Regions from separate parts of the Homo sapiens genome. Here regions 1, 2 and 4 are each linked to region 3. Evidence: promoter capture Hi-C in 16 types of primary human blood cells and fetal thymus (Javierre and others, 2016). All regions are on one chromosome and are shown on one strand. Each heading gives the region's core, a stretch centred on a gene start or on the middle of the fragment in contact. The rest is flanking DNA. Distances are from core to core; before and after follow the strand shown. Region 1 holds the start of BEST1 (bestrophin 1). Region 2 holds the start of FTH1 (ferritin heavy chain 1). Region 3 holds the start of TMEM179B (transmembrane protein 179B). Region 4 holds the start of FADS1 (fatty acid desaturase 1).

Region 1 (5,432 bases), core at 2,893-5,392, 840 kb before region 3:
CCTGGAGGCAGCATCCAGGCCTGGCTGACTTACCCCGGGGCCCCCTGCCTACTGCCCCCAGCCAAGCTGGGTCTCCTTCTTCCTGCCCAGCTGAGGCAGGGCCTAGAAGGGCACCGAGGCAGGCCCTCTGTGATGCTCCTGTTGCTATGGTAATTCTAGATGAGAAGGCCATAGCATTCTGTGTCTGGCACCCCCGCGCATCTCCCCAGCTCTGCCCTGCTGCCCCAAGAGATGGCTCTCTGCTGGGGAGCTCGAGAGCTTGGAATCTGCTGCAGTCAAAGTTTCTTCCATGCGGCCAGGCACAGTGGCTCATGCCTGCAATCCTAGCACTTTGGGAGGCCGAGGCGGGTGAATTACTTGAGGTCAGGAGTTCAAGACCAACCTGGCCAACATGGTGAAACCCCATCTCTACTAAAAATACAATACTTAGCCGGAAATCACTTGAACCCAGGAGGCAGATGTTGCAGTGAGCCAAGATCATGCCACTGCACTCCAGCCTGGGTAACAAAGCGAGACTCCGTCTCAAAAAAAAAAAAAAAGTATCTTTCATGCAGGCCCCATCCTTTGGACCTCCCTTCAACCCCAAGAGAGACCACTACCCTAGCAGGTAAGACTCTACCTCTCAGAAACTGACCTTTACTGTAGAGCTGATAGTGGGAAAGGGCTCAGGATCCAAAATCAAAAGACCTAGATCCTAGTCTCAAGCCATTTATAGCTGTGTGACCTTGGACAAGGCAGGCCTTGAGCTTCAGTGTCCTCCTTTGTAAAATGTGGATAAACATGCGATACTGAATCATCCTTCAGGAATAGCTCTATGACTTTCCGTAGGTTGTTCCCCTGATGTGTAATGCTCTTCCATTCTTCTCAGCTCCATGAACTCCTACTCATGCTTCAAGACCCAACCGAAATGCCCCATTGTCTGTAAAAATTTCCCTGACCTCTGTGCACTTGGCACAGATCTTAGGCCTTGCCATTCTGTGTTAGAGTTGTTATTTAAGTGTTTCCAAATTTTTTGACTATGAATACGTACAGGCAGGAATCAGATTAGGCTCAGTTCTGGAAGGAGAAATGGTTTGGCGAATATTTTCTTTGCGGAACGGAAAGCAGAAGAGGGCGACCTTGACTGGGTTGGGTGCCATCTCTGCAGGGGTCAATCCTGGGACTCTTGTTCCAGGCATGGCTTGGGTCAATCAGCACTCATGACTTTGCTGTGTGCCTGAGCCGTGCCTGGCTAACTGGGGACATTTTCATAGCTGAGACCCAGTAGGAGAGACCATGACTTGTGCCAGGGTGTGCCTGTCTCAGCTCTGGGGCAGGGCCAGGAGCAGCTGCTCATGGGATGTCTCTGGGGACATGCTGGGGCCTCTGGGAGGGGAAGGGAGACTGGCCATGCACTGTCTATGGTCCTGGTGGTACTCCTGGGATATTGCCAAGGAGCCTGCGGTTCAGGGAACAGGGAGGAGGGACTCTAGTGTCTCCAACTCCCTCTCATGGCTCTATGGCTGCTGGTCGGGGTCAGGGAGATGAAGCAGTGCCAGCTCCGTGGTCTGCACTGATCCTGACCAGTGAACCAGGCTTCCCCAGCCAGAGCCAGCTAGTCAAGCACGCTCTCTAGTGGCCACCACAGGGAAGGCAAGAACTTGTCTCCACAAAGGCAGGATTTTCATTTATTCCTTCAGAGAGTACAGAATGAGCATCAATGTTCCAGGCATGGTGCCAGGCATGTGTGTTAACTTTAGTTAAAACATACTTATTGGCCGAGTGTGGCGGCTCACTCCTGTAATCCCACCACTTTGGGAGGCCTAGGTGGGAGGACTGCTTGAACTTAGAGCTCAATACCAGCCTGGGTAATGTAGTGAGACCCTATCTCTATAAAAAAAAAAAAAATAGCTGGGTGTGGTGGTGTGCGTCTGTAGTCCCAGCGACTTGGGAGGCTGAGATGGGAGGATTGCTTGAGCCTGGGAAGTGGAGGTTGCAATGAGCCAAAATCACACCCATTGCACTCCAGCCTGGGTGACCTTGTCTCAAAAATATAGTTATATATTTACTTATATATTTATATGTATAAATATATGTGTACATACAAATATATTTGTAATATTATAGACATATTAATACATATTTACATATGTTAATATATAAATATATATAATATATATTTATCATCTTCTAAATGGAAAGCTCTTGAGTTTCAGGATGTGTTGGTTGGGAAGGGAATACAGGATAGGGAAATAATCCATTAAGCAATGACTCAGCACAGGCCATAAAATCAGAATCACCTGGAGAACTTGAACAATCCCAACACCTGGGGTCCATCCAGACCAATCAAATCAGAATTCGTAGGGGTCAGGCACAGGCACCAGTGGTTTGGAGAGTTGACGGACACATGTCCCATCCATCATTCTCATTCGGCTGCCAAGGTAGGCATCGTTGTCCCATTTTGCATATGAGGAGACTGAGGCTGAAGTGAACCTGCTTCTTTCCCCATATCAGTTGAGGACAGCGATGGGGCAGCGGGGAGGCAGTAAATACTCCTACAAGGCTGCCTCTAAAGAGAGTCTTATAATAACAACAGCTTTATTGTTTGCCATGATTAGAAAAGTATTCAAGGTCATTGCGAAATAGTGTTTTTTTTTCTAGGCAGATAATTATATAAAGGCAAAAATGGTGTGTGGGGGTGGGGGACAAGGGGAGGGAGAGCATTAGGACAAATACCTAATGCACGCAAGGCTTAAAACCTAGATGATGGGTTGACAGGTGCAGCAAACCACCATGGCACACGTATACCTATGTAACAAACCTGCACATCATGTATACCTATGTAACAAACCTGTACATTCTGCACACGTATCCCAGAACTTAAAGTGAAAAAAAAAGTGGTGTGTAGAAAAATCACCTGCAATCTCAGCATAGTTAACGCTTAGTACATTTCAGAGAGAGAGGGTGACAGGAAAGGGAGGATGAGAGTGGGTTTAAGACACAAGGTCATATTATAAAATCAGGGCTTCTGGAAGTTTAGTCCCAAAACCACACATCTCATAATCCCCTGCAGTGCTTGATTAAAATGCAACATCCCTAAGGCCACAGACTCAGACTCTGGAGAAAGATCCAGAAAACTGCCCGTTTAATAAACATTTGGGCGATTCTTACGGCCTCTAAAGACCAAGAACCACTGCTGCCTAGAGCTCTGCTCTCTTCATTGAACAATACAAGAGGAGTGTGTAGGTAGACACCCACCACTTCCAACAGCTTAGGAGAGCCCTTGAGTATGGATTGATGTATTAAAATTTATTGAATCACATGCTGAGATTTTCACCAGCTGCCCGTGGGGATCTGGGCATTTATTCCCATATTGCACTGGCTGGCTGGAAGCCAGCAGCATAAACTCCAGGGCTGTTCTGTCAACCCCCACCAGACTCACCCCCCTCCACCAGCCCCGGCAGGCTTCTCCTTCCATCTCTCTGAAGCAACTTACTGATGGGCCCTGCCAGCCAATCACAGCCAGAATAACGTATGATGTCACCAGCAGCCAATCAGAGCTCCTCGTCAGCATATGCAGAATTCTGTCATTTTACTAGGGTGATGAAATTCCCAAGCAACACCATCCTTTTCAGATAAGGGCACTGAGGCTGAGAGAGGAGCTGAAACCTACCCGGGGTCACCACACACAGGTGGCAAGGCTGGGACCAGAAACCAGGACTGTTGACTGCAGCCCGGTATTCATTCTTTCCATAGCCCACAGGGCTGTCAAAGACCCCAGGGCCTAGTCAGAGGCTCCTCCTTCCTGGAGAGTTCCTGGCACAGAAGTTGAAGCTCAGCACAGCCCCCTAACCCCCAACTCTCTCTGCAAGGCCTCAGGGGTCAGAACACTGGTGGAGCAGATCCTTTAGCCTCTGGATTTTAGGGCCATGGTAGAGGGGGTGTTGCCCTAAATTCCAGCCCTGGTCTCAGCCCAACACCCTCCAAGAAGAAATTAGAGGGGCCATGGCCAGGCTGTGCTAGCCGTTGCTTCTGAGCAGATTACAAGAAGGGACTAAGACAAGGACTCCTTTGTGGAGGTCCTGGCTTAGGGAGTCAAGTGACGGCGGCTCAGCACTCACGTGGGCAGTGCCAGCCTCTAAGAGTGGGCAGGGGCACTGGCCACAGAGTCCCAGGGAGTCCCACCAGCCTAGTCGCCAGACCTTCTGTGGGATCATCGGACCCACCTGGAACCCCACCTGTGAGTACAAGGTGCCCCAGGTGGACTGGGCTGGGGCTTTGAGGCCTTCAGGGTTGGATGGCCATCTTGCGTATTTGTGTGGGATATGCACACACAGGCAGCACATGCGCAGGTGTGTGGGCACCTGTGTGTCTGTGCAAATGCCCTGAGGTGGGAATGAGCTTGGTGTGCATCAGGCACAGCCAGCCAGTGTGGCTGCAGCAAAACACACAGGGAAAGAATGGAGGGGGCATCAATCACTGCTTCAGTAAATTTTTATTGAGCGCCTTCTACGAGAACACAAGAGGAGCTTCCATTCTGAGGAGGAAACAGGCAGGAAACAGGCAGATATCCTGTATAATTTCAAGTAGTGATAAGTGCTCTCTAGAAATATCAAGCAAGGTGAGGAGACACAGAGCACCGGTGGCAGTGGGGCTCTATTTCCAGGTTGGATGGTTGGGAACATCCTTTCTAAAGGGAACCTGGAGTGGGAAGGAACCATGCAGGTATCTCAGGAAGAGCTTCCTCCAGGCAGGAAGATCAGCAGGTGGAAAGGCCCTGGAGCCACCATTCAGTAAACATCATTTGAGCATCTCTACCAGCTAGGTTCCATTATGGGAATGGGAATATGGTGGTGGACAGGGCTGCCTGGTCCCTTCCATACTTCTCACACTAGGGTGGTTGAGAGAGCTTGGGAGCTAACGAACAAGATGGGCTGAGAACACTGCCTAGCCCAGAGGACCTGAGCTTAGTGTGTAGACATTGCTGCTGTTACTGCCTTTGTCATTGTATTATTTATTTATTTATTTATTTATTTTTAGACAGAGTTTTGCTCTTCTTACCCAGGCTGGAGTGCAATGGCGTGATCTCAGCTCACTGCAACCTCCACCTCCTGGGTTCAAGCGATTCTCCTGCCTCAGCCTCCTGAGTAGCTGGGATTACAGGCACCCGCACCACGCCTGGATAATTTTTTTGTATTTTTAGTAGAGACAGGGTTTCACCATGTTGGCCAGGCTGGTCTCGAACTCCTGACCTTAGGTGATCCACCTGCCTCGACTTCCCAAAGTGCTGGGATTATAGGCATGAGCCACTGCGCCCAGTGATTATAGAAAGTTAAAGGCACATGGCAATGCACACGCCTATCTACGTCTTCCCTGCCAAAGCAAAGGGCAGCCTCTGGGCTCACTTTCTTGCGTTTCTACTTCCAAAAGGCAGTCAGAACTGGCAGGGCCTT
Region 2 (6,183 bases), core at 159-2,658, 820 kb before region 3:
ATCGCGCCACTGCACTCCAGCCTGGGCGACAGAGCGAGACTCTGTCTCTCACACACACACACAAATTAAAAACCCCCATGCAAGGTGGCAAATGTGGACAGTATGTTGATGTAAACATACTTTTATAATAGTTATATCACAAAAATTTGATTTTCAGTTTTAGACATTTGATGTAGTCAAGTGTTTGTGAAAGGCAGTGACAGTCACAGAAATACAGGCCTGTTTTCAAATCCATTTGGAACACATTTATTCTTGGGATAGTTTGGACAATCACAAGGCAATTCTAAGGAAGACTCCCACGACACTGCCTAAGACCAAGATTTGGGAAAACTGATTCCACTGATCACTGAAAAATTTCTTGCCCAGTAACTGTCGGTGGACTTTATCCAAGAACTGGGGGTTCAATTAGTAGGCCAAACTCCACACCTCTTACAGTAAGATACATAAAAGATAAATTAGGTCCCCTAGGCGCAAGGTCAGGTGACACTTCGGTGACTGCAGAAGGGGCGATTCCTAGAGATATGCTTCAAAGCAAGTGGGACTTAGAGATAAGCAGAGCCGAGAGGTGGATACGGCTGCTCGAGAGGGATCTACCCACAAGATAAGCCACCTCCCGCCAGCCCCCAAGGTTTGCTATTCGACACCGTTACCCAGCAGCTCCGCCACACACAGGCGGACGGGAGCTGGATACCTAAGCAAAAAACGCTGGCATTTAGGGCCAAATGCCGGAGGCAGAGGAAAAGATGGGAAAGCAAAACTCCACCTTCCTAACCGCAGGATTGATCACACAGGCTGGCAGTCTTGCAACCCCAGGATTTCAGGACACCAAGGTCTCCTTAAAAAAGAAGGGTGTGCAGAGGCGGCCCTGGCCTAGGAGGGAGCATTCTCAGGGTACAGCCGAGAAGAACCAGCTGCCCCGACTTTCTGCGCCAGAGAAGTCCTCGGAAACCTCGAGCAGCCTCCATTTTCCAGAAGGGCGCAGGGAGGCGGGAGAGCCCGCGGGTGGCCACACCCCCGGCCCGCCCCAGCGCGCGCCCCGGGAACCGCGCCCGGCCCCCGCCACCGCTTAGGCCCGCCCGCGCTCACCATGGACAGGTAAACGTAGGAGGCGTAGAGCTCCAGGTTGATCTGGCGGTTGATGGCGGCCTCTGAGTCCTGGTGGTAGTTCTGGCGCACCTGCGAGGTGGACGCGGTCGTCATGGCGGCGACTAAGGAGAGGCGGCGGCGGCGGCGGTGGCTGCGCGGCGCTGGAGCGGCGGCGGGGGCCTTGGGGCAGTCCGAGGGTGCGGTGAAGAGGTGACGGAGGGCTGGCTATGGGCGGCCGGCCGGGGTGGGGAACGAGCGCCGGGTTCCGTCCAAGCACTGTTGAAGCAGGAAACCCCGACGACTCTCGGCGAAGAACGTCTGGCCCTGCGGGTCGCTTGTGGTCTCTTATAGCCGCGTCGGCGTCAGGCCCGCCCCGGCCAATCAGCGCCGCCCGCCCCGAGCCCGCTCCTTCCGGTGGGCGCGGGACCCCGCCCCTGCTGTGGGGGAGGGGCGGCCGCTGGAGGCCCTCGCGCGCTCTGGCGGAGCTCGGGAGCGGGGACCGGTAGCCGACTGCCTCTGGGACAGCGGTGGCGTCTCTGTGCCCGTTTAGTGGAGTTGGAGGGAAGCTGCGAGGAGGCGCAGGAAGTCCACCTCAGAACCCCCCCCCCGGTCTAGGGGCGCCCGGGCGTTGGAACCGGCGGGGGAAGGGTGCGGGGGCGCATGGGGTGATCCTGATTCGGCTCCCATTTTCCCGAACGGGCACCCTGAGGCTCCTGGCCCGGGGCATGGTGTTAGAAATCATAGCTGCGGAGAAGCCCTTGTGACACCTTGCTGCAGATTGGGAAGCTGCAGATGATTGGGAAGGTGGAAGGTGGAGACGCGGTCCTTAGGTGGTCGAGCGCATTTTCTCTTCCTCAGAGTCCAGGAAGGAGCGCGATGGAGAAGTGGGGCGCACGGCGGGTTTCGGGTCCGCCCCTGCCCTTCCGACTCCTCCGACCACGTCTGCCTTTGGCTGAAAGCAAATATGGCTCCGTGTGCGGTTTCTGCAACAAAGGCTGGGCGGGCCGGGTTTCCCTAGGGATGGGGACCGCCTCCCCGGGGAGTCGTGGGGGTGAGCCACCGGGGCCTCCGAGAGAATCGCTGGTGTCGCTTCGCACCCAAGGGACACATCTCGGGTTAGAAAGGAGAAACGACGTGGATCTAAAGGCGAAGCCCATGCTGAGGACTTTTCAAAATGGCCTCTTATCGGCCCCACTCACAGGAGCTTCAGGCTTCGGTGGCCCTGTAGGACAACCCTGGGGTGTCATTGGAGAGAAGCTGACGGGGTTAATGGCGGGTGACAGGTGAAAGAGACCCCGGAGGGGTGGGGCCGGTGTGTGTGGCTAAGCTGAGTCCCAGGCACAGGGTGGATGTGAATTTATGGGTGGCAGAGCTAGAGCTAGGCCCTGCCCTTACCTAGGTCCTGGCTTCGAGGTCCACTGTTCTGTCGCGTCTTTTGACGCATCGGTGGAAGAACTGAATTTCAGGATGCTCACAAACCTGCAGCTGGAAGCTAGACTTCCAAACCTTAGTTTAAAAAAGCAACTCTACTGAAATACTAAAATAAATTGCCGACGGAATTAGGGTGATTTCTTGTTCACGGTTTCATTTAAAAATGCACCTATGTTATTTACAGGAAAAACGTTTTAGTGGTGCTAGAGCTACAAGAATAAGGTAAACAGAAGGATGCTGCTAGACCAGGAGTACCTTACCCAGTCTGGGATAGGAGGAGGTCGGGGAAGCCCTCCCTAAGCAAGACACGTGAGCTGAGTTTGAAGAAAAAGTTAAAAGGAAGGTGAAGTGCGGGAGAGAAACAGGGAAGGGAATTTGGAGCAGAGTGAACAGCATATGCAAAGGTGTGGAAATGTGGAAATGCATGGCCTGTTAAAGCTGCCTTAAGAAAATATGTTGCCTGGGGCTGGGCGCGGTGGCTCATGCCTGTAATCCCAGCATTTTGGGAGGCCGAGGCGGGCGGATCACTTGAGGTCGGAGTTGGAGATCAGCCTGGCTAACTAACATGGCTAAACCCTTCTCTACTGAAAATACAAAAATTAGCCGGGCGTGGTGGCATGCGCCTGTAATCCTAGCTATTCTGGAGGCTGAGGCAGGAGAATCGCTTGAACCTGGGAGGCGGAGGTTGCAGTGAGCCGAGATCGCGCCTTTGCACTCCAGCCTGGAAGACAAAACAAAACTCCGTCTCAAAAAAAAAAAAAAAAAAGAAAGAAAGAAAGAATGTTGGCCTGGAAAGTACAGTTTATGTTGGGGGATGCTGGTTAGGGTGGAGAATAGGGGCAAGATCGGGCAGGGTTGTGTTCCATAAAAAGAGGTTAAACTTGATCCTAGAGACAGCATAGAGACACCTCATTAGCTTTGTTTTTAGAAACCTTACACTGGGAATCTCTTAGGATAAGAGTATAGCAAAGTCACCATATATAGGATCCAAAGCTTTCCTTTATAACAGTAACCACCAGTTAGAAAATATGGGGAAAAAAGAATGGAAAAAAAAATGTTTTTCACTTACATTGACAACAAAAGCTTAAAGTACCTTGGAATAAAGTTAACAAGAAATATATAGAAAAAACTATAAATGCTTACTGCTGGACAAAAAATTCAAAAAGCCTAGCATAAATGAAGAGGTACCATATTCCCAAATGGTCGGTCAATCTTCATTCTGTAAAGATGTCAGTTTCCCCAAATAAGCATAAATTCACTGCAATTTCCATAAGAGGCAGTTTTTTGTTTTTGTTTTTCCTCAGCCATTACTGTCTCTGGGACAGTATTTTTTTTTTTTTTGAAACTTCACAAAATGATTCTAAAGTTCATTTGGAGGAGTCAGTGTGTTGATAGATTTGCATTTGGTGCTATAATAAAGGTACAGTAAAGTGCTATAAGCAGTATGGTACTGGCACAGGAAGAGATGACTAGATTAATGCAACAAAATAGTCCTGCCCCCCTATTATGAGAACTTGGTATATGCTAAACTGTTGTGTCACATTAGGGAAGAAAGAATGGGTTTAACAAATTATGTTGAAACAATTGACAGTCATGTGGAGAAAAGTGACTCACTCAGTATTTAAAAATACATTCCAGATAGATTAAAAATCCAAGCCTTAAAAAAAGTATAAAGTTTTGAGAAGAATATATACAAGATTATTTTTATAATTTTGGGGTAGGGAATGTTCTTCTGAGGCTGTCAGAAGCCGTAAAAGTACAGTTGGCAGGTTTGCCTATTTAAAAATGAAAAGCTGTAAGACAAAAGATGTTGTAAACAAGGTTAAAACAGAGATGACAAATTGGGATGATATTTGTAGCTCATGTAAGTGATGAAGATTAGGAACTATAATATATATTTGTATGTTTAATGAAGTACTATGTATGTGTCACACCTTTTTTTTTGAGATGGAGTTTTGCCCTTGTTGCCCAGGCTGGAGTGCAGTGGCTTGATCTCGGCTCACTGCAACCTCCACCTCCCGGGTTCAAGAGATCCTCCTGCCACAGCCTCCCAAGTAGCTGGGACTACAGGTGCCTACCACCACACCTGGCTGATTTTTGTGTTTTTAATAGAGACGGGGTTTCACCATGTTGGCCAGGCTGGTCTCGAACTCCTGACCTCAAGTGATCCACCTGCCTCGGCCTCCCAAAGTGCTGGGATTACAGGCATGACCCACCGCACCTGGCCTTATGAGACCCTTTTGATTGCCTGCGCTGGTGCTGTAGATGGTAAGCTCCTGGAAGGCAGGCATTGTTTCTGTCTTGTCTCTGCACTCCCAGCTTTTTGCAAATTGCTTGTTACTTGGTGCCCAGTATCTGTTGCATGAACAGATGGATTCATGATTGAATGTGGAGGATGGATGAGAGTGAGGCTAGAGGGCTGGGCACCAGTCAGGAGGCAGCAGCCTTAGTTATTAGTGAGCAGAGAAGATAGAACACAGATTTGACAGATCTGGAGAAGATCAAATGAACAGACTGATTGGCGAAAGTCGGGGGCCAGGGGTGGGCAGTGTGTAAGAGATCTCTCAGCTTTATGATTTGGTAGGCCTGGCTGCTGCTGCCATTCCCTGAGCCAAGGAGCACAGGAGGAAATGAAGGTTTCGGGGAAAGCCCTTGGGGAAGGCCTGCTTGGTTTTGGACTAGATGTGCTGAGTTTCCAGGCTTCCGGGATGTCCAGGGGGACAAAGCCAGCATGAAGCTCTCGGACCCACTGGAGGGAAGTCGGTCTGCTGCAGGGAGTAGGTTTCCTGAATCAGTGTTGGCTCCATGCTTGGCTAAACATGCATGTAGCTGCAGTGAACATCGCAGCAAGACTGAGGGACAGCTTGTGCTGTAGAAGGTCATTGGGAGGAGGCTGGCTGGGAACAATGGAAGGGAAATCTATTGGTGGGGGAGTGTGAGTGTGTGTGTGTGTTTATGATTGTTTATATGATTGCTTGTGTCCGTTCCCTACTTTCTGGTAACTTGAGGTGTCAGAACTGCAATGTCTAAGCCTTTAGATTCTTCCGAAGCTGTGGCCTGGTCTTGGGACCTTTGTTGACCAGGGTTCTACCTCCCCCACCCTCCAGCTCAGCTCCTCGTGACTTGGAGGCAGCAGAGAGTTTGGCTGGTCTCCCAGGACAGCCGCCTCCCAGGGCCAGGAGTGGCGGGAGGGACCTCAGATGAGAGAAGAGCCAAGCCGGTGGTTTCTGGAGGTTCAGCACATCCTGGAGCAGGAGGGGGCGGTGGTGGGGGTTGCGGTGGAGAGTTGCTGTCCCACCGTGACTCAGCACTCTGCTAGGCTGGGCTTGGGCTCAAAAAGTGCTTTGTCATGGAGGAGAAGAGCAGTCATAAGACCTGGAGGGCTGTGGCTTCACTGTGGAGGGAGGGAGGGAGGGAGGGAGGGAGGGAGGGAGAGTGTCCCCCTCCCCCCATTTCCTAATGGGACAAAGTCCAGAGGCCGGACTGGGAACAAAGGGGTCTGAGATCACTCAGGGGGGCCTCTGATGGTGTTTTTGCTGGCAAGCCTAGGTGTCACTTTTCCTACCTATCCCTCGCTCAGTGCCTTCCCGCCGCATGGGGAATTCTCAATAGATGTTGGGTCCCTTTCTCTTCTAGGGATTGTTATTGTGTAGTCACAATTTAGGA
Region 3 (5,579 bases), core at 2,533-5,032:
TCCCTCTTGGATTTAAGCAATTCTTCCACCTCACCCTCCCGAGTAGCTGGGATTACAGGCACGTGCCACCATGCCCACCTAACTTGTATTTTTAGTAGAGAGGCAGTTTCATCATGTTAGCCAGGCTGGTCTCAAACTCCTAGCCTCAAGTGGTCTGCCTGCCTCGGCTTCCCATAGTGCTGGGATTATAGGCATGAGCCACCACGCCCAGCCGATTATGTGGTTTAATATGACAAGTTCTATTCTGTTGATATGCTAGGTGTATTAATGGATTCTTCTTCTGAACCACTTTTGTATACCTGGAATAAGTTCTATTTGTTGCTTTTGAGATTTTTGTTTTTTTGAGATGGAATCTTGCCAAGATGGCGCCACTACACTCCAGCCCGGGCGACAGAGTCTCACACTGTCGCCCGGGCTGGAGTGCAGTGGCGTGATCTCGGCTCACTGCAACCTCCACCTCCCGGGTTCAAGTGATTCTCCTGCCTCAGCCTCCTGAGTAGCTGGGACTTACAGGCACGCACCACCAGGGCCAGTTAATTTTTGTATTTTTAGTAGAGACGGGGTTTCACAATGTTGGCCAGGATGGTCTCAATCTCTGGACCTCGTGTTCCGCCCGCCTCGGCTTCCCAAAGTGCTGGGATTACAGGCGTGAGCCACCGGTGCCTGGCCATATATATATATTCTTAATTTTTTTTTTTTTTTTGAGACGGAGTCTCGCTCTGACACCCAGGCTGGAGTCCAGTGGCGCCATCTTGGCTAACTGCAACCTCCGCCTCCCGGGTTCACGCCATTCTCCTGCCTCAGCCTCCCGAGAGTAGCTGGGACTACAGGCGCCCGCCACCATGCCCGGCTAATTTTTTGTATTTTTAGTAGAGACAGCGTTTCACCGTGTTAGCCAGGATGGTCTCGATCTCCTGGCCTCATGATCCGCCCGCCTTGGCCTCCCAAAGTGTTGGGATTACAGGTGTGAGCCACCGTGCCTGGCCTATATTCTTAATTTTATCATCAATTTATATTGGATTTTTATCAGATGGTTTTTCTGCATCTTTTGAAATGATCCGAAGGCTTTTCAGCTTTTGTTTTCCAATGTTATTACAGATTTCCTGATAGTAAACAATCTTTATAGTTCCATGATACACTAAACTATGTCATGGGATAGTCGTAAAGAAAAAACCCAAAGCTTTTATTGGACTGTAATGCATTTTAATTTACTTGTGGGTCTGCTAAATTTTAAAAGGGTTTATATTCAGGAGTGAAATTAAACATGTTTCCTCTCATGTACTGTCCTTGTCTGGTTTTAGAATCAGGGTTATACTGGCCTTACAGAATGATGTGGGGAGTATTTCTTTTTTATATTTACTTTAATAAGATTTAGATCATCTTTTTCTTTTCTTTTTTTATTTAATAGAGATGAGGTCTTCCTACATTGCCCAGGCTGGTCTCAAACTCCTTGGTTTAAGTGATCCTTTGGCCTTCCCAAAGTGCTGGGATTACAAGCGTGAGGCACTGCACCTCGCCTATCTTTTTCTTGAGTGTCTGTAGACTTTTGTAAATTCTGGCATGGTATTTTCTTTCCTTTTTTTTTTTTTCGAGACAGAGTCTCACACTGTCACCCAGGCTGGAGTGCAATGGCGCGACCTCGGCTCACTGCAACCTCTGCCTCCTGGGTTCAAGCGATTCTCCTGCTTCAGCCTCCCGAGTAGCTGGGATTACAGGCGCTCACCACCATACCTGGCTAATTTTTTGTATTTTTAGTAGAGACGGGGTTTCACTGTGCTGGCCAGGGCTCGTCTCGAACTCCTGACCTCCTGATCCGCCTGCCTTGGCCTCCCAAAGTGCTGGGATTACAGGCGTGAGCCACAGCGCCCGGCTGGTATTTTCCTTATAGGCCCAGCTGGTATTTTCCTTATAGTTAATTCTTTTTTTTTTTTTTGAGACGGAGTCTCACTTTGCTTCCCAGGGTGGAGTGCGGTGGTGTGATCTCGGCTCACTGCAACCTCTGCCCCCCGAGTTCAAGTGATTCTCCTGCCTCAGCCTCCCAAGTAGTTGAGATTACAGGCAACTGCTACTGCGCCCAGCTAATTTTTGTATTTTTAGTAGAGATGGGGTTTCACCATCTTGGCCAAGCTGGTCTTGAACTCCTGACCTCAGGTGATCCACTGGCCTCGGCCTCCCAAAGTGCTGGGATTACAGGCGTGAGCCACAGCGCCTGTCCAATCACAGGATTTTAAATTGTATAATCAGAGTCCAAGTCTCTGGTTGGTTGTTTTTATGCAGATTGTTTGAACTGAGTCTCAGTTTACATCTAAGTGAAGCCAGTACTTGCCTGATTGTATAGGGTAGCAGTATGCAAACTAAATTTTGGAGTTGTCAGTAATGAGCATTATTTAGCACACAGGGCAGTGATATTGGGTATATTTTTTATTGTCTCCCTTTGTACCTTATCTTTATTCCCAATGCCTAGCTTAGGTATACAGTAGGTTCCAAATAAATATATGGTTGAATATGCCAATCAGGGAATTTAGGAGGATTGAGCCCTGTCTAGGATCAGAGATAAAGGTAGGTCTTTCATGGGAAAGGGTCCTTGAGAGGGAATAAGTATCAAAGACATGCTAACTGTATTCCTTCTCTTCCTTCCAGGCAGTAGAACGAGTCCTGTACCCACACCTGTCCACCTACTGGACAAACTTGCAGGCTGTGCTGGATGATTATTCAGTATCTAATGCCCAGGTCAAAGCAGATGGACACAAAGTCTATGGAGCCATTCTGGTGAGTACCGTCCCCTTCCAGCCTCCCTTCCCTGCATGAGCTTAGCAGCCAAGCAGGCTTACTTTGGAATATTTGATGGGCCCAGGTTCCTCGAATTTTTTGCCTATCTTAGTCCTTGGCTCTTACAGGTGGCGGTAGAGCGACTGCTGAAGATGAAGGCCCAGGCAGCAGAGCCCAACAGGGGTGGCCCAGGTGGCAGGGGGTGCCGGCGCCTGGACGACCTGCCATGGGACAGCCTTCTCTTTCAAGAGTCGTCCTCCGGGGGCGGTGCAGAACCCAGCTTTGGGTCCGGCCTCCCGCTGCCGCCAGGGGGCGCGGGGCCGGAGGACCCTTCTCTTTCGGTGACCCTGGCCGACATCTACCGGGAGCTCTACGCCTTCTTCGGTGACAGCTTGGCCACACGCTTTGGCACCGGCCAGCCTGCACCCACGGCTCCGCGGCCGCCCGGGGACAAGAAGGAGCCGGCGGCAGCCCCGGACTCGGTGCGGAAGATGCCGCAGCTGACGGCAAGCGCCATAGTCAGCCCGCACGGCGACGAGAGCCCCCGGGGCAGCGGCGGAGGCGGCCCCGCGTCGGCCTCTGGGCCCGCCGCCTCTGAGAGCAGGCCCTTGCCGCGCGTGCATCGGGCGCGCGGGGCACCCCGGCAGCAGGGCCCCGGGACCGGCACCCGCGACGTTTTCCAGAAGAGCCGTTTCGCCCCGCGCGGCGCCCCGCACTTTCGTTTCATCATAGCCGGGCGGCAGGCTGGGAGGCGCTGCCGCGGGCGCCTTTTCCAGACTGCCTTCCCCGCGCCGTACGGGCCTAGCCCGGCCTCGCGCTACGTGCAGAAACTGCCCATGATCGGCCGTACCAGCCGCCCCGCCCGCCGGTGGGCGCTCTCGGACTACTCGCTGTACTTGCCGCTCTGAGTCAGTGGCCCCTTCGTTCCTTGTAAATAAATCCCGCCCCCGGAAATGACGTCTCCACCTTCGTGGGTCGCGCCGGATAAGGTGGGCTTTGGGCGGGGTGCTGCTGCAGCGGCGCTTCCTGGTGGTCAGGGCGCCATGGCGCTGTCCTGGCTGCAGCGCGTCGAGCTTGCGCTCTTTGCTGCCGCCTTCCTGTGCGGGGCCGTGGCGGCCGCGGCGATGACTCGGACCCAGGTGCGGCTGCGGGGCGGGGTCAGGTAGGCGGGGGAGCTGGCCGGTCTGGACATGGCGAGGCCACTTTCGCTTTCCGACCGGGCTTGCTGCTGCTCGGAGCCGGTGGACCTGGTGAGGCACGGCTGGCGCCGGCCTGTACCTGAAATGCAGCGAGGCTAATCGCGCTTTGTGGCTCCTCCTGGCCAGGTCATACTTCGAAGTTGTCCCCTCGCCAAAGGGACGGGTCAGTAGCGTCTTAAAGCACTAGGTGGAGTCGGGTTTCGTGGCTCCTGCTGCACAGCCTTACTGTGGTTCCGAAACAGAAGTCAGTGCAGAACCTGCGTCCATCCGTTAAATCAGAAGCCATTTGTGCTGAGCTTTGTCGAGAAATAAAGCATAGTGTAGTGGAGATGATCAAGCTGCCACATGATTGTAGCACAGTGTGTTAAATGACAAAATGAGAGATGGAGAAAACGCTGACGTAAAGGTAGAAGCCAATAATTTACATCGTTTACCCCAGCCAGGTAATCTGGTTAATAAACATGGGTTCATTTAATGCCTATAAAGTAGGCACTAGTGTGCCTATTTTACACCATGAGAAAACCTCAGAGATCCGCCGGGCGCGGTGACTCACGCCTGTAATCCCAGCACTTTGGGAGGCTGAGGCAGGCGGATCACTTGAGGTCAGGAGTTCGAGACCAGCCTGGCCAACATGGCAAAACTCTGTCTCTACTAAAAATACAAAAATTAGCCGGGTGTGGTGGCTCATGCCTGTAATCCCAGCTACTTCGGAGGCTGAGGCAGGAGAATCGCTTGAACCTGGGAGGCGGAGGTTGCAGTGAGTCGAGATCGTGCCATTGCACTCCAGCCTGGGTGACGAGCGAATCTCCATCGCAAAAACAAAAACAAAAACACTGGCCGGGCCTGGTGGCTCACGCCTGTAATCCCAGCACTTTGGGAGGCCGTGGCAGGCGGATCACGAGGTCAGGAGATCAAGACCATCCTGGCCAACACGGTGAAACCCTGTCTCTACTAAAAATACAAACAATTAGCCAGGCATGGTGGCGGGTGCCTGTAGTCCCAGCTACTCAGGAGGCTGAGGCAGGAGAATGGCATGAACCCAGAAGGCAGAGCGTGCAGTGAGCCGAGATGGCGCCACTGCACTCCAGCAAAAAAAAAAAAAAAAAGCACCTCACAGATAGTTATTTGTTGAAGGATATACAAGGCCTGGGTTTACTCTAAGGTTTCTGCACAGAGACCATAACTTGTGAGGCTTCTCTGAAGCTCATTGCATTCTATATTCATTGCCTATTTTCTGATCCTTCTGGCCACTGCCGGTGTGATTCCCCAGCAGGCCCTCTCCATCAATATCCCTGTCCCAGAAATAGGAATTGACGGTGCACAAATAACTTCCTGGAATGCAGGACCATTCCTAAGTTATCACTAACACCCTACCAAGAGACTGTATCTAGAGACATTAACCTGAAATCTAGGACTCAGCAGCTTCTCTCCACAGGGCTCCTTCAGTGGTAGATGTCCCCTGTATGGTGTGGCCACCCTGAATGGCTCCTCCCTGGCCTTATCCCGTCCCTCAGCACCATCCCTGTGCTACTTTGTAGCTGGGGCCTCTGGCCTCTTGGCCCTCTACTGCCTCCTGCTTTTGCTCTTCTGGATCTACAGCAGCTGCATCGA
Region 4 (5,358 bases), core at 297-2,796, 970 kb before region 3:
ACCTGGTGACCCGCGGCACACTCTGGGACGCCAGGGTAGTGGATAGGGACAGTGGAGGGCATCACGCTGCAGGGCACGGGATCAGAGGGGGATGCAAGGGGAGGGGACGCCATTCTGGCCGCCAAGGGGGAAACGCGGTGAAGGGAACGCCCCGACTTTCGAGTCCCTAGGACTGAGTCCCCAGGACTCCAACCCAGCAGAGAGGCGCCGGGGCCTTAGCTCTGAGGGCTGTGGTCTAGAAAGGGAAGCAGCAGGCCTGGGGCTGGGGCGCGCGCCGACCCCGCAGTGAGACCAAGGGAAGAAGGGACAGGACCCCGCGAAGGGCCTACCGCCCCAGAGCGTAAACAGCGGTCCGCTCCGCGGAATAGCTGAAGACCTCGCTGGCCTGCGGCTCAGTGGCCTCCCCGGCGATTCGAGAACAGCTCTGGGGGTCCTCGCTAAGTGTATGCCATTCCCAATCCCTTATGTACGCCAGCGGCCGCTTGCCCTCCCCGGCCAGCGCTGTCCCTTCCGCGTCCTCCAGTCTTCACACGACGCAGGGGTCCCCAAGGCAGCGGTCTCCCCAAGCTTCCCGTTTCAGCCCCATCCTCGAGAATGGGCTCCTTTCCTGCTCCCTCTCCGCTCCTGCTGGCGAGTGGAGACCGGCACCTAGGTCCAGACGCGGCTGCGCTGCCTCTCCTAGCCATCGAGACAGGATGTGACTCCCTCCCCTGGCCACTGACCCCCTCCCTCCCCAGGCGGCCTGCATCCTTGCTCTCCTCCCTCCTAGCCTACCCAGCTCGGGGTTCTGTCCCCGCCCAGAGACCTGAGGCTCGGGGCTGCAGATGGAATGCACGGCAGGGAGGCGGGACCCTTTGTTTGTGTGTGCGTGTTGTTGGCCTCCATCCCCACTCCCCAGACTCCACTTCTCCAGGCCTCTCTCCCGCCTTTTCATCCCGCATCCGCAGGACACCCAATCACCGGGCAACAGGTATGATCAGGCGCCTCCGGGCTTTCCTCCGAATTAGTCGGTGTTTGGCTCGGAGTGCGTAACTCTGTCTCCCCTGCACTCAGCCTCCGGTCCCGCCCTCTCCTGTGCCCCCGCCTGGCTGCGCTCACCGTGGCATCCTGCCCGGCGTAGTGGCTGATGACCCGGGAGCCCCCTGGATGCCGGCGGGTGAACTCGCTGATGTTGTACACCTTACGGTCGATCACTAGCCACCGCTCCTCGCACCCTGAGCGCTGGGCCACCTCGTCCCAGGTGAAGTAGCGCGGGGTAGGTCCCTGAGCCGCGGTCTCGGCGGCCACCGGGTCGGGGGCCATAGCTGGCCTGGCGACGCCGCGCGCCGGGCCAGCAGGGGCTGTCAGGCGCGTGCTCGGGGTCCGCGGGCTCCAGGAGTGGATTTGCTGGCGCGCGCCCAGAGCCAGCCGCCTGCGCGCCGGGTTTTCAGCACCGCAGGGCAGACCGGCGGGCCTCGCAGCGCGCGTTCCCATTGGCCGAGCCTCGTGGCGCGGGGAGCGAGATCCCGTCCCCCGGTGGGTCTTGGGCAACTCACAGCTGGGCTGCCAACACGCGCCCCCTCGCGGGCTCCCTAAAGGCGTCGCCGCCGGATTCGACTTCCTGACGTCAGGCGGGCATCGCGGCGTTGGCTCCCAGGGGGCGCCGCGGTAGGAACAGCGGTTCTAGTGCAGGCCCTGGGTGCGGGGCCGCGCTGCAGGAGTGAATGGACTGAGGGGCCAGGGCTGCGGGGTGGCCGCAGGAAGGGTGGGCGGGGCCGGGGTTGAGGTTTTTCCGTGCACGAGGCTGCCCGGGCGGTCGCGGACATCATCTTTAGGCTGTGGATGCCTTGGCCGGGGTCTCCAGACGCTGACCCTCCAGGGTTGGAAACTACTGCCTGCTTGCCACGTCGTGCCGCCAATTGTGCTGCCCGAAGTAGCAGCCTGAGAGCCCTTGAAAGTTGCAGTTATCTTGTGAACAGCATATTTACGGTCTCTTGGGCTTGGTGGTGGTTGGGGGAGGGCTGTTAATGCTTTAATTTGTTCAATGAAACATTTAAAATGCCCCACAATTTTTATAACCCTGTTTGCCTCTTTTTGTTTTTATTTTTATTGTATTTTGGAAAAATTCACTGGGATCCTTGAGTGATGATCCTAGCGTCTCCTGACCCTTAGGTGTTTCACCTGAAAAGCCTGGGTCTTCAAGCTGAGGCATTTCTGTTCTAGCCTGGAGGCGCCTAGGAGCCCTGGGAGACTTTTTAAGCAGAGAGATTTGGCATTTAGATCTCTGGGTTTTAGAGGAGTGGGAACGCACCTAAAAGTGGGGTTGCCAGTTACAAAGCTGTTGCAGTCCTGAAGAGACCCAGAGTTTAGGTCCAAAATTTTATTTATTCAACAAACACTTTATAAAGCACTTACTGTGTGCCAGGCACTGTTCTTAGCGTTTTGCAAACCTTAACTCATTTAATTCTCCTAACAACCCTATGAGGTTGGAACAATTAACCTAATTTACAGTGAAGAAACTGAGCCCGGGGGAGGTTATTTTGTCACACAGCTTGTAAGTGGAGGGCTGAGATTTGACCCTGGCCTGTGCTCTGAACTCTCAGGCTCTGCCATATTTCTCATTACACTGGTATTTGGGCACTTCAAAGGGAAAGGAAACATAACTGTCCCAAGCACTGAGCTAGATTCTGAGCACGTAGGAGTCAGGAGAGGGTGATACAGAATAGACTAGGTGAAATATGGCTAGATTTCTGGTAGAAAAGGATTAATTCATTCCATCCAAATTCTTCATTTTATAGATAAGAAAATTGAGGTTCGAAATGGGGAAGGGGCTTACCAAGTTCCCATAGGGAAGTTTAGATGTCCTGACTTCCAGGTAAGATGCCAGGCTATTGGACCCTGCTCAGGAATGATGGTCCACACAGCTGCACCTCTGTACAGCCAATATTCCTTTTTTAAAAACCTTGCCCAACAACTTGGCAGTGTCTAATGCGAGCTACAAAACATTTTCTATTCTTTGATCAAGCAGTTTCACTCTTGGTAAAGTAGGGGAGACTGTGCAAAGATGCAGAAATAGCCAATTTAATAGCAAAAACTGGAAATAAACCCGAGTCCTGACAATAAGAAAATCGCCAAGCTTATTGGGATCTGTTAACACAATGAAGAATTAAAGAATGATTTTAAATGGCTAGAATGTGAACTATATTGATAGATATAGAATCCTTCCCCGTGAAATAAGCAGAACCCAAAGTAGTATGGGTTCGCTGATTACAACTATATAAGAAATTCATGGGTATTAAATAACAGAAGAGAGGTCCTTTACATAAACCATTTTTCCTATGTGACTGTGCAGTGGGATAAAAGCTCTCATACTGCTGGTAGAAGTGTAAGTTGATTAAACTGGAAAAAATAGTTTGACAACTTATATAGAAATTTAAGATTTTTTTTTTTTTTGAGATGGAGTCTCGCTCTGTCGCCCAGGCTGGAGTGCAGTGGCCTGATCTCAGCTTGCTGCAAGCTCCACCTCCCAGGTTCATGGCATTCTCCTGCCTTAGCCTCCCAAGTAGCTGGGACTACAGGTGCCCGCCACCACGCCCAGCTAATTTTGTTTTTGTATTTTTAGTAGAGTTGGGGTTTCACCATGTTAGCCAGGATGGCTTTGATCTCCTGACCTCGTGATCTGCCCGCCTCGGCCTCCCAAAGTGCTGGGATTACAGGCGTGAGCCACCGCACCCGGCCAGAATTTAGGAATGTTTTGAATACTGAAGAGATGAAAAAAAATAGAAAAATAAAAATGTTCCCAATAATTCCATGTTTAGGAATATAGCCTAAGGAAATGTTCTTAGAAAAATATTTATAGGTCAGGCGGGGTGCCTCACGCCTATAATCCTAGCACTTTGGGAGGTCGAGGCAGGCGGATTGCCTGAGCTCAGGAGTTCAAGACCAGCCTGAACAAAAGAAATCGGCTGGGCGTGGCGGCGTGCGCCTGTAGTCCCAGCTACTCGGGAGGCTGAGGCAGGAGAATTGCTTGAATCCGGGAGGCAGAGGTTGCAGTGAGCCGAGATTGTGCCACTGCACTCCAGCCTGGGCAACAAAGCAAGATTCTATATCCACACACAAAAAAAGAAAACTATTTATAAACAAAAAATATTCATTAAAGCAGTATCTATGATAGCGGGAAATGGAAACACTCTAAATGCCCATCAGTGAAATATTTTGCAGACATTGAAAATAATGTCATCTTTCCTTTAATACAGAATCAAGGAAAAATGTTTTATGTAAATCTTTTATTTTATTATACTTTAAGTTTTAAGGTACATATGCACAACATGGAGGTTTGTTACATATGTATACATGTGCCATGTTGGTGTGCTGCACCCATTAACTCGTCATTTAGCATTAGGTATATCTCCTAATGCTATCCCTCCCCCCTCCCCCGAATCAAGGAAAATTAAATAATATGATGTAAGTTTGGCTACAGAGATAACTGTTCTATAAAAAGACTAGGTTGGGCGCGGTGGCTCACACCTGTAATCCCAGCACTTTGGGAGGCAGAGGCAGGTGGACCACCTGAGGCCAGGAGCTCGAGACCCACCTGGCCAACATGGTGAAACTCTGTCTCTACTAAAATACAAAAATTAGTGCCTGTAATCCCAGCTACTTGGGAGGCTGAGTCAGGAGAATCACCTGGGCAACATGGTGAGACTGCACCTCAGAAAAAACCAAAAAACCCATACCACTTGTAAGATAATTCCTTGATCAACCCCACCTACCTAGAACCATTCATTAAGTGTTTTATTTAACATTTGTGGGGTGTCTCCTCTTTGTATTCCCAGCACCTACTTTGGTAAGGTGCTGGGAATACAAAGTTCAGTACTATATGGGTCATGCCTAGTCATGTCTACTGGAGGAGAGAGACAAGTGAGTCACGGATTATAGGTCAGTAGGATAGATGCAAATTAAATTCATCTTACTCAGGATTTAAACAGCTTATATGACATGACTTTGCATTCATGTTTCTTTGCTTTTCATGTGTTCTTAGGTCAGTGTCATGTATTTTGCTACCTCCCTAACGAGCTTATAATCCAGGATAGGGCTGTGGATTCTGTTTATACTACCAATACATATTCAGAGCACCTTGGTTTGGAGTTCTAGGTGGAATCCCACATAAATTTGCTGAATTGGCCGGGCGTGGCAGCTCATGCCTGTAATCCCTGCACTTTGGGAGGGTGAGGAGGGCGGATCACCTGAGGTCAGGAGCTCCAGACCCACTTGGCCAACACGGTGAAACCCTGTCTCTACTAAAATACAAAAATTAGCCGGGTGTGGTGGGGGGTGCCTGTAATCCCAGCTACTTTGTGGGGGTGAGGCAGGAGAATC

What was found. The method cuts DNA at HindIII sites, captures the fragments that hold promoters and counts their contacts. A CHiCAGO score of 5 or more calls a contact.
Region 1: a contact is called between the fragment with the promoter of BEST1 here and the fragment with the promoter of TMEM179B in region 3, in 2 of 17 cell types (monocytes and M0 macrophages). The highest score is 8.2, in monocytes.
Region 2: a contact is called between the fragment with the promoter of FTH1 here and the fragment with the promoter of TMEM179B in region 3, in 4 of 17 cell types (fetal thymus, total CD8 T cells, monocytes and 1 more). The highest score is 10.8, in fetal thymus.
Region 4: a contact is called between the fragment with the promoter of FADS1 here and the fragment with the promoter of TMEM179B in region 3, in 6 of 17 cell types (monocytes, M0 macrophages, fetal thymus and 3 more). The highest score is 7.5, in monocytes.

Annotation. Positions count from the first base shown.
Region 1 is chr11:61,946,209-61,951,640 of GRCh38, forward strand. It overlaps BEST1 (bestrophin 1), which reads left to right and starts at 4,143. Exons shown (of 11, transcript NM_004183.4): 1 at 4,143-4,219. It also overlaps a transcript of RAB3IL1 not described here. RefSeq lists a silencer at 1-4. The HindIII fragment of the contact is 17,311 bases long and covers 1-5,432 here.
Region 2 is chr11:61,966,226-61,972,408 of GRCh38, forward strand. It overlaps FTH1 (ferritin heavy chain 1), which reads right to left and starts at 1,409. Exons shown (of 4, transcript NM_002032.3): 1 at 1,087-1,409. The coding sequence starts at 1,200. It overlaps LOC399900 (a long non-coding RNA gene), which reads left to right and starts at 1,069. Exons shown (of 1, transcript NR_187560.1): 1 at 1,069-2,654. RefSeq lists silencers at 936-1,135, 1,406-1,755, enhancers at 2,276-2,345, 2,466-2,515, 5,652-5,946, 5,750-5,894 and cis regulatory regions at 5,381-6,140, 5,386-5,897, 5,817-5,827. The HindIII fragment of the contact is 7,079 bases long and covers 1-3,508 here.
Region 3 is chr11:62,783,620-62,789,198 of GRCh38, forward strand. TMEM179B (transmembrane protein 179B) reads left to right here and starts at 3,783. Exons shown (of 5, transcript NM_199337.3): 1 at 3,783-3,908; 2 at 5,404-5,579. The coding sequence starts at 3,813. TAF6L (TATA-box binding protein associated factor 6 like) reads left to right here. Exons shown (of 11, transcript NM_006473.4): 10 at 2,641-2,769; 11 at 2,898-3,723. The coding sequence ends at 3,677. It also overlaps a transcript of TMEM223 not described here. RefSeq lists an enhancer at 2,854-3,053 and a silencer at 3,304-3,413. The HindIII fragment of the contact is 7,473 bases long and covers 1,179-5,579 here.
Region 4 is chr11:61,815,457-61,820,814 of GRCh38, forward strand. It overlaps FADS1 (fatty acid desaturase 1), which reads right to left and starts at 1,547. Exons shown (of 12, transcript NM_013402.7): 1 at 1,099-1,547. The coding sequence starts at 1,473. It overlaps LOC124902680 (a long non-coding RNA gene), which reads left to right and starts at 2,564. Exons shown (of 2, transcript XR_007062696.1): 1 at 2,564-5,358. It also overlaps a transcript of FADS2 not described here. RefSeq lists an enhancer at 1-748 and silencers at 1,269-1,468, 1,809-1,908. The HindIII fragment of the contact is 2,548 bases long and covers 566-3,113 here.